Regions from separate parts of the Homo sapiens genome. Here region 1 is linked to region 2. The links are contacts of gene promoters, found by promoter capture Hi-C in human tissues and cell types (Jung and others, 2019). All regions are on one chromosome and are shown on one strand. The core of a region is centred on a gene start or on the middle of the fragment in contact, and the rest is flanking DNA. Distances in the headings are between cores, read along the strand shown.

The links. Contacts are between HindIII fragments. The study calls those that stand out against the background at their distance.
Region 1: a contact is called between a fragment that was not itself captured here and the fragment with the promoter of CXADR in region 2, in 2 of the 25 tissues and cell types used here (small bowel and stomach).

Annotation. Positions count from the first base shown.
Region 1 is chr21:17,465,048-17,471,814 of GRCh38, reverse strand. No RefSeq gene overlaps it. Among named protein-coding and RNA genes, the nearest start is that of TRG-GCC1-5, 14 kb to the right of the region's middle. The HindIII fragment of the contact is 3,015 bases long and covers 205-3,219 here.
Region 2 is chr21:17,509,606-17,515,931 of GRCh38, reverse strand. It overlaps CXADR (CXADR cell adhesion molecule), which reads right to left and starts at 2,889. Exons shown (of 7, transcript NM_001338.5): 1 at 2,760-2,889. The coding sequence starts at 2,802. RefSeq lists silencers at 2,719-3,258, 3,319-3,438. The HindIII fragment of the contact is 6,448 bases long and covers 1-4,383 here.

The DNA of each region.
Region 1 (6,767 bases), core at 463-2,962, 43 kb after region 2:
TTTGGAGTTTGATTGGTTTAGGTTCTAATCCAAAACCCTGTTCTTCCAAACCTTGGACAAACTAACTTCTCTAATACTCAATCTTCTTCACTTTAAAGTGACGATTAAATGACAAACCGCAACAATTCCAAAAAGATCCTCCCCTTTCTTTTATGTGTTGGAAACACTTACAAGGAGACTGTTCTATATTTTACTTATGTATTAAGATCTTTTCTTGGCTGGGCGTGGTGGCTCACACCTGTAGTCCCAGCACTTTGGGAGGCCAAGGTGGGCGGATCACTTGAGGTCAGGAGCTCGAGACCAGCCTGGCCAACATGGAGAAACCCCGTCTCTACTGAAAGTACAAAAATTAGACAGGTGTGGTGGCACATGCCTGTAATCCCAACTACTCAGGAGGCTGAGGCAGGAGAATCGCTTGAACCTGGGGTGGGGCAGAGGTTGCAGTGAGCCAATATTGTGCCACTGCACTCCAGCCTGGGTGACAGAACGAGACTCTGTCTCAAAAACAACAACAACAACAACAACAACAAAACTTTTCTCTTTGGGGAAAGTAGTGTTGGGAAATAAAATTTTTGAGGCTGTTAGAAAACTTTAGCTTCCCTGAAATTTACAAATCTTTGTGTTCTTTGAGTACCAATTGCTTCTGACAAAATTTTTAAAATCTAAATTTACTCAGAGATTTTACTATCAGGTAATTTTCAGTCTGGCAATGATTTTCTCAAAACCTAGACTTCTTGAATATTTTGGTATTTAAAAAACTACATGAGAATATGAGGGTTTTTTTTTTTTTTTGATGGTTCCTTGCTCTGTCGCCCAGGATGGAGTGCAGTGGCACGATCTCAGCTCACTGCAACCGCTGCCTCCCGGATTCAAGCGATTTTCCTGCCTCAGCCTCCTGAGTAGCTGGAATTATAGGCACCCGCCACCAAGCCTGGCTAATTTTTGTATTTTTAGTAGAAACAGGGTTTCACCATGTTGACCAGGCTGGTCTCGAACTCCTAACCTCAGGTGATCCGCCCGCCTCGGCCTCCAAAGGTGCTGGGATTACAGCTGTGAGCCACCGTGCTGAGCCTGAGATACTTATTTAAAAGACGAGATGGGCCGGGCGAGGTGGCTGATGCCTGCAATCCCAGCACTTTGGGAGGCCGAGGTGAGCGGATCACCTGAGGTCGGAGTTTGAGACCCGACCAACATGGAGAAACCCCGCCTCTACTAAAAATACAAAATTAGCCAGGTGTGGTGGCTCATGCCTGTAATCCCAGCTACTCGGGGGGCTGAGGCAGGAGAGTGACTTGGACCCGAGAGGCGGAGGTTGTAGTAAGCTGAGATCATGCCATTGCACTCCAGCCTGGGCAACAAGAGCAAAACTCTTGAACTCAAAGAAAAAAAAGACAAAAAAAAAAAAAAAAAAAACAACACAGAGATGGTGATTTAAGAACTAACAGCAGGTCGAGCGTGGTGGCTTACGCCTGTAATCCCAGCATTTTGGGAGGCCAAGGCAGTAGGATCACTTGAGCTCAGGAGTTTGAGGTCAGCCTGGGCAACAAAGTGAAATGCCATCTCTACTAAAAATCAAAAAAAGTACCTGGACGTGGTGGCACGTGCCTGTATTCTCAGCTACTCAGGAGGCTGAGGCAGGAGGGTCGCTTGAGCCCAGGAGTTAGAGGCTGCAGTGAGCTATGATCATGCCACTGTACCCCAGCCTGGACAACAGAGCAAGACCCTATCTAAAAAAAGAAAAAAAAAAGAAAGAAGAAAAAGAAAAAGAAAGAAAGAAAAAGAAAAGAACTAATAGCAGATATATTTTTGTTGTGGTAATATATACATAACAAAATTTAGGTAGGGCAGCATAGTGAGACCCTATTTCTACAAACAAACACTAAAACAAAGAAACCCAGCCAGGTGTGATGGTACACTCCTTAGTCCCAGCTACTTGGGAGGCTGCGATAGGAGGATCACTTGAGCCCAGGAAGTTGAGGCTGCAGTGAGCTATGATTGAACCACTGTACTCTAGCCTGGGTGACAGAATGCAACTCTACCTCTAAAAAGAAACACACACACACACACACACACACATAAAATCTACCATATACCATTTTAACCATTTTAAAATCTACAGTTCAGTGGCAAGTGGCATTAAGTATATTTACATTGTTATGCAACCATCACCACCATCTATCCTCAGAACTTATTTTATCCTCTCAAACTGAAATTCCACACCCATTAAACAATAACTCCTCGTGCCTCCCTTCTCCCAGCCCCTGGCAACTGTTTGATTTTCTAATGGCAGATAATTTTAAAGACAAAGCAGCGTGGCGCGGCTGCACGCCTGTAATCCCAGCACTTTGGGAGGCGAGGCGGTCAGATCACGAGGTCAGGAGATCGAGACCATCCTAGCTAACACGATGAAACCCCGTCTCTACTAAAAATACAAAAAATTAGCCGGGCGTGGTGGTGGGCACCTGTAGTCCCAGCTACTCGGGAGGCTGAGGCAGGAGAATGGCGTGAACCCGGGAGGCGGAGCTTGCAGTGAGCCGAGATCGCGCCACTGCACTCCAGCCTGAGAGCAGAGCCAGCTCCGTCTCAAAAAAAAAAAAAAAAAAAAAAGACAAAGCAAACAGGATGATGCTTCCATAGCTGGTAGCAAGCTTTGTATTTCTGCCCCAGGTCTGTGTCATTTCTAAACTATCCCACTGAGATATTAATTCAGCTTCTTCAGAAGGATATTACAGAGGAATGCCCAGTTTGACCGGATCACCTGGGACCAGCCAGTGCTGGGCAGTCCCCAGTCCCTTGGTAGGTGCTGTCAGGGGCTGGGCCACCTGGCTGCAACCCCACCAACTTCTGCTGCTTTTGAGAAATCAGTCCTGGACAAGTGCAGGGGCTCACACCTGTAATCCCCATGGCCTGAGGCCAAGAGTTCATTACTGGCCTGGGCAACATAGCAAGACCCTGTTTCTACAGAAAATTTAAAAATTAGCCAGGCAGGCCAGCCATGGTGGCTCACATCTGTAATCTCCACACTTTGGCAGGCCAAGGTGGGAGGATCATTTGAGCCCAGGAGTTTGAGACCATCCTGGGCAACATGGTGAAACACAATCTCTACAAAAAATACAAAAATTAGCTGGGCATGGTGGCATACATCTGTAGTCTCAGCTACTTGGGAGGCTGAGGTGGGAGGATCACTTGAGCCCGGGAGGGCAAGGCTGCAGCGAACTGTGATGGAGCCACTACACTCCAGCCTGGGTGACAGAAAGAAACCCTGTCTAATACAAAACAAAACAAAAAAATTGGCATGGTGGTGTGCACCTGTAGCCCCAGCTACTGGGGCGGCTGAGGTGGGAGGATAGCTTGAGCCTAGGAGTTTGAGGCTGCAGTGAGCTATGATCATTGCCTGGGGGGGCATAGTGAGACCCTGTCTCAAAAAAAAAAAAAAAAAAGAAAGTAAAGAAAAAGAAAAAGAAAGAGTAAATCAGTCTCAGCCTTGGTATCTTGTCAGCCTCTGACTCTTTCAAGCCTTGAATTTCAGGCGGAGGACTCCAGCGGGTTTAATACCCATCTGCCAATGTCAGCTCAGTTTCCATTCCACCAGGAATTTACTATTCAGCAACCCAACCCTGTTTTCTTCAGCCCAAACACTGACCTAGTAAAAGCGTACCAGACCTTGGGTGCATATCTGTAAAATGAAGAGGGTGAATTAGGTAATCTCAAAGGTATTTTGCAGCCCTGAAGTTGTTACTCTCTGTTTAAGAAAAACAAATAGTGGTCCTCATGTAAGAGGCTAGATAAGCTTTTTCTGTAAAAATTCCCTCTCTTACTAGTATTTGTCATGTTGTGATATAAATACAAATGCTGAAAGCGTTATGTTTGGTTTGAAAGTTCAACTAATGGTCAGCAAAGGGTTAATTGTAAGTCAACATAGGATTGGGAGTTTGGAAACAAAAGAATTTAGAAGAAAAGGTAATCCGTTAGTCAGTACAAAGAATTTCATATCCTGAATATAATCCTGAAAAAATTGAAGACCTAGGGGCCTTTGACAGACTATTTTTTTTCTTTGCATAAAACAGTTTTGACTTTCACTCTAATGCAGCCTTAGTCCGGTTGAAGGCAAGTAGCTTGCTATTTGATAGGGCTATTTGCATTTCAAAGCTAATCAGTATTAAATAATCCGCTGGCAAAAGAAGAGTAAGAAGGTCACTGTGTGTATTTTATTATTGTGTAAACTTGGGAAAACAAGCTGAGAGTCTGAGAAAGCTCAAATTCTAACAGATAAGAAAGTGTTTTATGTAAAAGGTCTCTTAATGAGTGAGTTAGTCTTTATTTCTCTGACTTACTTCCGCAGAGTCAGGAGGATCACATGACAGCTAGGCTTTATAAGGAAATAAAAACAACCCGTGAAGAGAAAAACCATTTATTTTCAATACTTAAGGTAAAAGAACTTCTTAAATATTTAGTTTTTATTCTTCTGTAACTTTTGAGAACATTTAATAGTTTTAATTAATTAACATTTAATATTAAATTATACTATTTCATTGGCCAATTCATATCAAACTTGATTATAACTCTAATTCAGTGGTTCTTAACCCTGGCACGTTAGAATCACCAAGAGAAAAGAAAAATATTGATGTTCGTTCCTACCCCAGAGAGTTGATGTAATTAATTTGGGGTGTGGTCTGGTCATCAGTAATTTCTAATAATTCCCAGGGAATTCTCCTGGGTTGAAAGTTGAGAACCATCCGGGTGCAGTGGCTCATGCCTGTAATCCCAGCACTTTGGGAGGCCGAGACAGGTGGATCATAAGATCAGGAGTTCGAGGCCAGCCTGGCCAAGATGGTAAAACCCCGTCTCTACTAAAAATACAAAAATTAGCCGGATGTAGTGGTGGGCGCCTGTAATCCCAGCTACTCGGGAGGCTGAGGCAGGAGAATCGCTTGAACTTGGGAGGCAGAGGTTGCAGTGAGCCGAGATTGTGCCACTGCACTCCAGCCTGGGTGACAGAGAGCAAGACTCCATCTCAAAACAAACAAACAAACAAAAAACAAAAAAAAAAAGAAAGGAAGAAAGTTGAGAACCATTATCCATTATTATAATTTATATGCTGAGTATATCCTCCTCTGCAAATAAGACCTCAATGACTCTCCCATTGTTTACAGTATGGTCTTAAATTTTAATTGCATACATCTATTGGTTAAAAAAAAAAAGAAAGAAAATTAGAGGTGCGGCGGCTCCCACCGGTATGATGTCAGCACTTCAAGAGGCCAAGACAGGAAGATTGCTTGAGCCTAGGAGTTTGAGTCTAGCCTGGGCAACACAGTGAGACCCTGTCTCTACAAACATTTTAAAAATTAGCCAGGCATGGTAGCCTGTGCCTGTGGTCCCAGCTACTTGGGATGCTGACATGGTAGGACTGCCTGAGCCCAGGAAGTCTCAACTTCCTGGTTTAGTCCTACCACTAAAGCCTCAGCTTTAGTGAGTCACCGCACTCCAGCCTGGATAACAGAGTGAGGCCCTGCCTCAACAACAAAAAGAAGAAAAAATTAGAGCACATACCAAAGTATATGTGTGTATGTATATGTGTGTATATATATATACACACATTATTATACACACATATATATTCAAATTATTTAGATGTGTTATTTTTACCAATATGTTATCTATATTACAAAACAGAAAAAAGACATTAATAAAACTATGAATAATTAATAAATAATTTCTTCCTATACCCCTTACCATCCTTTTAGCCACTTCACTTTGGAAACAACTGTTTCATAGGATAAAGAATAAATTCCAGGCTAGGCACAGTGGCTCATGCCTGTAATCTCAGCACTTTGGGAGGCCGAGGCGGGTGGATCACCTGAGGTCAGGAGTTTGAGACCAGCCTGGCCAACATAGTGAAACCCCGTCTCTACTAAAATACAAAAATTAGCTAAATGTGGTGGCGCATGCCTGTAATCCCAGCTACACGGGAGGCTGAGGCATGAGAATCACTTGGGCCTGGGATGTGGAGGTTGCAGTGAGCCAAGATCACGCCACTGCACTCCAGCCCAGGAAACAGAGTGAGACTCTGTCTCAAAAAATAAAATAAAATAAAACAAATAAATAAATAAATAAATTCCATATCATGGAGTTCAAGGTTTTTCTCTAGGCAAAATTTCATCTCTCTTTTATTGTTGTTTGTTTGTTTTTGAGATGGTGTCTCACTCTGTTGCCAGGCTGGAGTGCACTGGTGCAATCTTGGCTCACTGCAACCTCCACCTTCCGGATTCAAGTGATTCTCCTGCCTCAGCCTCCTGAGTAGCTGGGACTACGGTCGTGTGCCACCATGCTCAGCTTATTTTGTATTTTTAGTAGAGACAAGGTTTCACCATGTTGGCCAGAATGATCTTGATCACTTGACCTCGTAATCCGCCTGCCTCGGCCTCCCAAAATGCTGGGATTACAGGTGTGAGCCACCACGCCCGGCCTCTTTTATTGCTATATATCCTACTGTTTTAGATTATCGTTACTTTTTTTGTTGCTGATTTTTTTTTTTTTTCAGACGGAGTCTCGCTCTGTTGCACAGGCTGGAAGGCAGTGGCGCGATCTCAGCTCACTGCAACCTCCGCCTCCCAGGTTCAACGCGACTCTCCTGCCTCAGCCTCCTGAGTAGCTGGGATTACAGTGTGCGCCACCACGCCTGGCTAATTTTTGTATTTTTAGTAGAGACGAAGTTTCACCATGTTGGTCAGGCTGGTCTTGAGCTCCTGACCTCGTGATCCACCCAC
Region 2 (6,326 bases), core at 1,640-4,139:
GGAATATCTATCACTGACGGTATAATCTGAATGAGTCTTTCCCTTGTTTTGCTAAAGTAGGAGTCAATCATGTTAACAGTGAACTTGAGTTAATAACAATGCCTTTTTTTTTGTTTATTTGTTTCAGAGACGGAGTCTAGCTCTGTCGCCCAGGCTGGAATGCAGTGGCGCGATGTGGGCTCACTGCAAGCTACGCCTCCCGGGTTCACGCCATTCTCCTGCCTCAGCCTCAGCTGGTACTACAGGCGCCTGCCACCAGGCTCGGCTAATTTTTTTGTATTTTTAGTAGGGACGGGGTTTCACCGTGTTAGCCAGGATGGTCTCGATCTCCTAACCTCATGATCTGCCCGCCTCGGCCTCCCAAAGTGCTGGGATTACAGGCGTGAGCCACCGCGCCCGGCCCATACCAATGCATTTCTAAATGGTCAGAAATATCTGAAGAAATAAAGCCATTCATCAATTAGTATGTCTTCTTTTTTTTTTTGAGACAGAGTCTCACTCTGTCGCCCAGGCTCGAGAGCAGCGTCATGATCTTAGACCTCATGAGCTTAGACCTCCCAGGCTCCGGCAAACCTCCCATCTCAGCCTCCCGCGTAGCTGGGACTATGACAAGCATCACTGCACCTAGCTAGTTCTTTTTGGGTTTTATTTTGTTGTATTTTTTGTAGAAATGCGGTCTCGCCATGTTGCCCAGGCTGGTCTCAAACTCCTACACTCAAATGACCCTCCCGTCTCAACCTCCCAAATTGCTGGGATTACAAGCACCGTGCCTGGCCTCAGCTGTTCTTAAACTGAAAAACTGGAATAAAGATAGTTGCCTTGTTTAGCTGAGACACTGGCCCTTCGAGTAGATGTTCACTGTACCCGTGTATACCTTATGAGCACAATGACTCTCTGCATCAAAATATTATTTCTTAGAATTGTGCCTATCAAAGTGAGGCATTCCAAAAAAAAAAAATTAAATCCAATTATCTAAATATTCCCGTTAAAACAACAACAACTAGTTCCTGCCAGGCATGGTGGCTCACGCTTGTAATCCCAGGACTCTGGGAGGCTGAGGGAGGCGGATCACCTGAGGTCGGGAGTTTGAGACCAGCCTGACCAACATGGTTTCTACTAAAAATAAAAAAGTTAGCCGGGCATGGTGGGGGGTGCCTGTAATCCCAGCTACTCAGGAGGCTGAGGCAGGAGAATCGCTTAAACGCGGGGGGCGGAGGTTGTGGTGAGCCAAGATCACGCCATTGCACTCCAGCCTGTGCAACAAGAGCGAAACTCCATTTAAAAAAAAAAAAAAGTTCCTCCACATAATTTATGTTCTTCCACTTTTCTGCTTTAGATGTGGTCTAAAACTATTTTTTTTTTTTTTCCCAGAGAACACACTGTGTTCTCAACTTCATCTTCAGGTTCGGCCTAGACAAAAAAAAGAAAAAAAAGAAAGAAAGGTGGGAATGTACCTGTAAACTGGTTCTATGACCCTTCATCTTCTCCGGAAGGCTTACTTTGGACATTTCAGCCCGCCAAGTCTAAATGATATATATCAAAAAGGTGGAGGTAGTGCTATAGGCTCAGATCGAAGATTAGACTTGCTAATAGAATGTTGATCCCATGAGTAATGCTCACAGCTGTGGCATCCAACAATGGAATTAACATTTCAACAGGAAGCAGAGAGCCATCCCAACAGAAAGGGCCACTAGATCCTGCTTCAGAGCACCTAACAACAAAAAATTACCCTTCCAGAGGCTATACTAAGTGCGCCTCCTAGGATCCCACCTACGGATTTTTAAAAATGAATTATTTGGTTATAAAACGCAGCAAGTGCTTAGTTTGACAAACAAGATCAGTTGGTTAAAACACCGACATGGAAAATCCGTTTTTTAAAGTGTCAAAATGATTACGCCTCCTAATGGTCCACGCATTTTTCACATGCCTTTTTTCCCCTCCCAGAGAAAGGAGCAGTCGACAAACGCACTTGGCAAATCCTCTAGCAATTACCCTGTACAACTCAGCCCGTCTTATCTCCAAAATGAACGACTCATTACAAACTCAAAAACGAGGTCACTGAATTCTCCTTTGCACTTCGCCCAAGGACTGCAGAAACCAATGCTACATTTTTGCAGGAACCCACTTTTGATTTTCCACGGTCTCCTTCACAATGCGCGTCTGGTTAGCAGCTCCTGCCTGGGCGAGCTGCTTCCAGGAGACTAACACCGTCCAGGCTGGCGTTCGCTCAGCGCCTCTTTCCTAGAGGTAGCCTGGCCGATCCGAGGCACCGGGCAGCTCCATGTCCATTGAATAATGGCGTTTGCAATTCAGCCTCCCCGCCTGGGCGACTCGACACCTGAAAACTCGCCGCCCAAGGTTTTTGAAATCGGGTAACGCTGGAGAGAACCGACACGAAGGCTGACAAGGGAGACGGCGAGAGCAAAGAAAGGCAAGCCCGCACCGGGGCAGAGAATGCTATGGGAGAGCTGCGAGGCGCACCCGACACGCCGCGCCCGAGCCCCTCCGCCTCCACCCCCCGCCGAGGGCTCCGTCCCCGGGCACTCCGCGCGCCCTGCGCGGCTCCCTACGGGACGGCTCCAGGAGCGCCCGGCCCAGCAAAAGCGCCCCTGTGCAATTCTGCCCGCCCCGCCGCCCCTGCAGCAGCGCCCCCAAATCGCGCCCGCCCCCTCCCCCACGCCCCATTGTTCCTGGGTGGCCGCGGGCAGCGAGCGCCCCCGGGCTGGGCGGGTGCTGAGGACCCCATGGCCCCTACTCACCCACTACTCCGCACAGGAGCACGAAGCACAGCAGGAGCGCCATGGTGGCTGCCGTGCCGTGGGCGGCGGCTGCAGGTAGGCGGCTCTCGCTCCTGGTCCCAGGCTCCCCGCGCCTCGCGCGCTCCCGACTGGCTCGCGGCGGCGGCGGCACCTCTGCACCCTCCGCCCCTCCTCCCAGCCCCCGCTCGGCAGGTGAACTCGCGTCACTTCCGGCAGCGGCCCGGGCCGGGCTGCGAGCGCCGGCTTCTCCAGCCGCGTGGGGTTGCCTTGGCAACCGGGCGAGGCGCTCTTCTGTCCCCGGGACCCTCCCGGCGCCGAACTCTCAGCCTCCCGGCGCGCGGCGTCGTAGGTCGCGGGCGGCCGCCTCCCACGCCGCAAGCCTGCGCAGGGGTCCCCGCCTCCATCCCTTAAGCTAAACCAGGGTTTTGCGCGCGGGGGTGGGGCAGCCCGTCTCCCACATACTGAAATTGCGTTGGCGCCCTCCTTTAAGGCGAGGCACGGGACACTCCCAGGGGCCGCCACTAGGGCGGCTCCTACCCTCCGCCCCGCCTGCACCCACCCGTCCCACCCCTCGCGGTTTGCCCCAGGGGCAGGTTCTCTGACCTCATGCTCACGGGATGCGACCTGTGCAGCCCCTGGCCTTCGCTCTCTTAACGAGCCGCTCTGGCTGACATAAAAAGCGCGAGAGGGCTTTTCTCCATCTCTGGTAGGGATAGAGCCCCTCTGCAGCTACCGATTTGGGAAATACCTGAGGTTTTTTCCACTTGCACAGAAAGGCTATTCTAGCCCTGAAGCTGGCTAGTAAGACGCTATAGTCCCAGCTACTCCGGAGGCTGAGGTAGGCAGACAACTATTATCCAATATTAGTGAGTGAGCTTTGAAAGTGGGGCTCAGTAGTTGTGGTTGAAGGCGTCAGTTGGAGTGTGGGGTCGGGGAATTGGAGATCTTGAAAGTTGTTGTCGGCTGCTCTTCCAGATAACGTTTATTTATAACTACATAGAGACTTTGTAGTGCCGCGACAGTTCCATAACAGAAATGAATTGAAGAAGAGGAGCGGTGGGTAAGAGCTTATTCCGCGGAGTGGGGCAGTAACTGGGCAGGTTTCATAGAAATGGCACCTACTTCGGGGTTGCTATGAAAGTTAAATGAGATAATGCACAAAAAATGCTTGGCACCCTGCCTGGCACGTAGTTTTAATTAGCTTCCACTTACTGAGTTCTTGCTTACAGGGTTCCTGCTTATGTAGTCTATAAGCTTACATAGTTTGTAAGTTCCTGCTTACTATCTAGACTAAGCAGGAACCCCCGTAAGCAGAATTCAGTAAGTGGAAGCTAATAAAACTAATATTGGAAAATTCTTATTATGCATTGAACCAGAAAAGAGAAGGGGCAAAGAAATCAGGTATCAAGAAGACCAGAATTGCGCAACTGCAGTTTAGCCTGGTGAGTTGCAATTCTGGCTGCACATGAAAATTACTTGGAGAATGTTTTAAAAATACTAGTGCCTGGCTGGGCGCGGTGACTCACGCCTGTAATCCCAGCACTTTGGGGGCCCAGGCGGGCGGATCATGAGGTCAGGAGATCGAGACCATCCTGGCTAACACGGTGAAACCCTGTCTCTACTAAAAATACAAAAAATTAGCCAGGCGTGGTTGCAGGCGCCTGTAGTCCCAGCGACTCGGGAGGCTGAGGCAGGAGAATGGCGTGAACCCCGGGAGGGGGAGCTTGCAGTGAGCCGAGATTGCGCCACTGCACTCCAGCCTGGGCGACACAGCGAGACTCCGTCTCAAAAAAAAAAAAAATATATCTATCTATCTATCTATCTATATATGTATATATATACTAGTACCTGAGCCTTACTCAAGTGATTCCAATTTAATTTGATTTAAGGGGAATCCTGCTTTACGGCAGCCCAATAAATGACAGATGACCAGTGGTAGTAAGAGGAAGTGGCTTTGCAAAATCATACCATCTGATTGTAAAGTTCTGCCAAAGCTTTTACAAACTAATAAGAGTTCAATACAGACGTAAGACAACATGAGTAACGGCTAGGGACTTCCCATTTGAGCAAACAGGAATTCTACTGGATATAATTGCGTGTAAATAATATTTGGAATTTAAATTTTTACTCACCACACTAAATGAAATCAAGCAGAGAAGAGCAAGTATTGAAGTTGTTCATCTGTTTAACAGTGTTCTACGAGAACTTTTCTATACTCGCTCTGTCGCCCAGGCTGGAGTTCAGTGACCCCATCTCGGCTCACTGCAACCTCCGCCTCCAAGGTTCAAGCGATTCTTCTGCTTCAGCTTCCCGAGTACCTGGGACTACAGGCGCGCGCCACCACGCCCGGCTAATTTTTGTATTTTTAGTAGAGACGGGGTTTCACCATATGGGCCAGGCTGGTCTCGAACTCCCAGCATGTTGGGAGGCAGAGGTGGACGATCGCCTGAGCCCAGGCGTTCGAGACCAGCCTGGGCAACATGGCAAGACCCCCCATATCTACTAAAAATAAAAAATGAGCCGGATGTGATGGCGCGCAGTGCCTGTAGTCCCAGCTACTCCGGAGGCTGAGGTAGGAGGACAAATATTATCCAATATTAGTTTTGTTATCTTCCACTTACTATGTGCAGGAACCCGGTAAGCAGGATCTCAGTAAGTGGAGCTAATAAAGTGAGCCCAGGAGGCAGAGGTTGCAGAGAGCCTTGATCCAAGAAGGAGAAGGAAGCAGAAAGAAGAAGAAAAGGAGGAGGAGGAGGAGGAAGAATTACCCAAAAGGATTTAGGAGGAGGAGGGGGGGGGGAGGAATTACCCGAAAGGATTTAGGAGGAGGAGGGAGGAGGACCGGGAGGACGAAGGGAGGAGGAAGGAGGAGGAGGAGGAAGAGGAACAACAACTACCCAAAAGGATTTTTATCTTAATCCCTTTCCTGGTACTTTTTCTTCTAATTCTTAGCTTTTGCCTCCTTCTGTGTTAGGCATTTGCATACCTATTAATCACTTTTCTTGTTCTAAATACTTCTAGAAGGCTGAAAAAGCACATTTTTTTTTTGTCTTCGTCACTTCTGAAAGCACATACTAGGTTCTCAAGTATTTCTCAAGTTGAATTGAATGCTTATTTTCTATGGCAATATGTTAATAAAATTTAAGTATCTGTGCAACAACAAATCATTGCACCTTAAATATATCTTTTCAGAATGTGCTTTTTTGGGAGAGGGGGACAGGATCTCGCTCTGTCGCCCAGGCTGGAGTGCAGTGGCGTGATCTCGCCCACTGCAACCTTGGCCTCCTGGATTCAAGCGATTCTCCTGCCTCAGCCTCCTGAGTAGCAGGGACTACAGGTGCACTCCACCACACCCGGCTAATTTTTGTATTTTTAGTAGAGACAGGGTTTCATCATGTTAGCCAGGATGGTCTAGATCTCCTGACCTCAGGTGATCGCCCACCTTGGCCTCCCAAAGTGCTGGGATTACAGCCGTGAGCCACTGTGCCCAGCCCAGAATGCGTTTTTTAAAACGTAAGTTTTACATCAATTTTTTTCTGCTGCTTTAGATTACTGAACACAGATTTT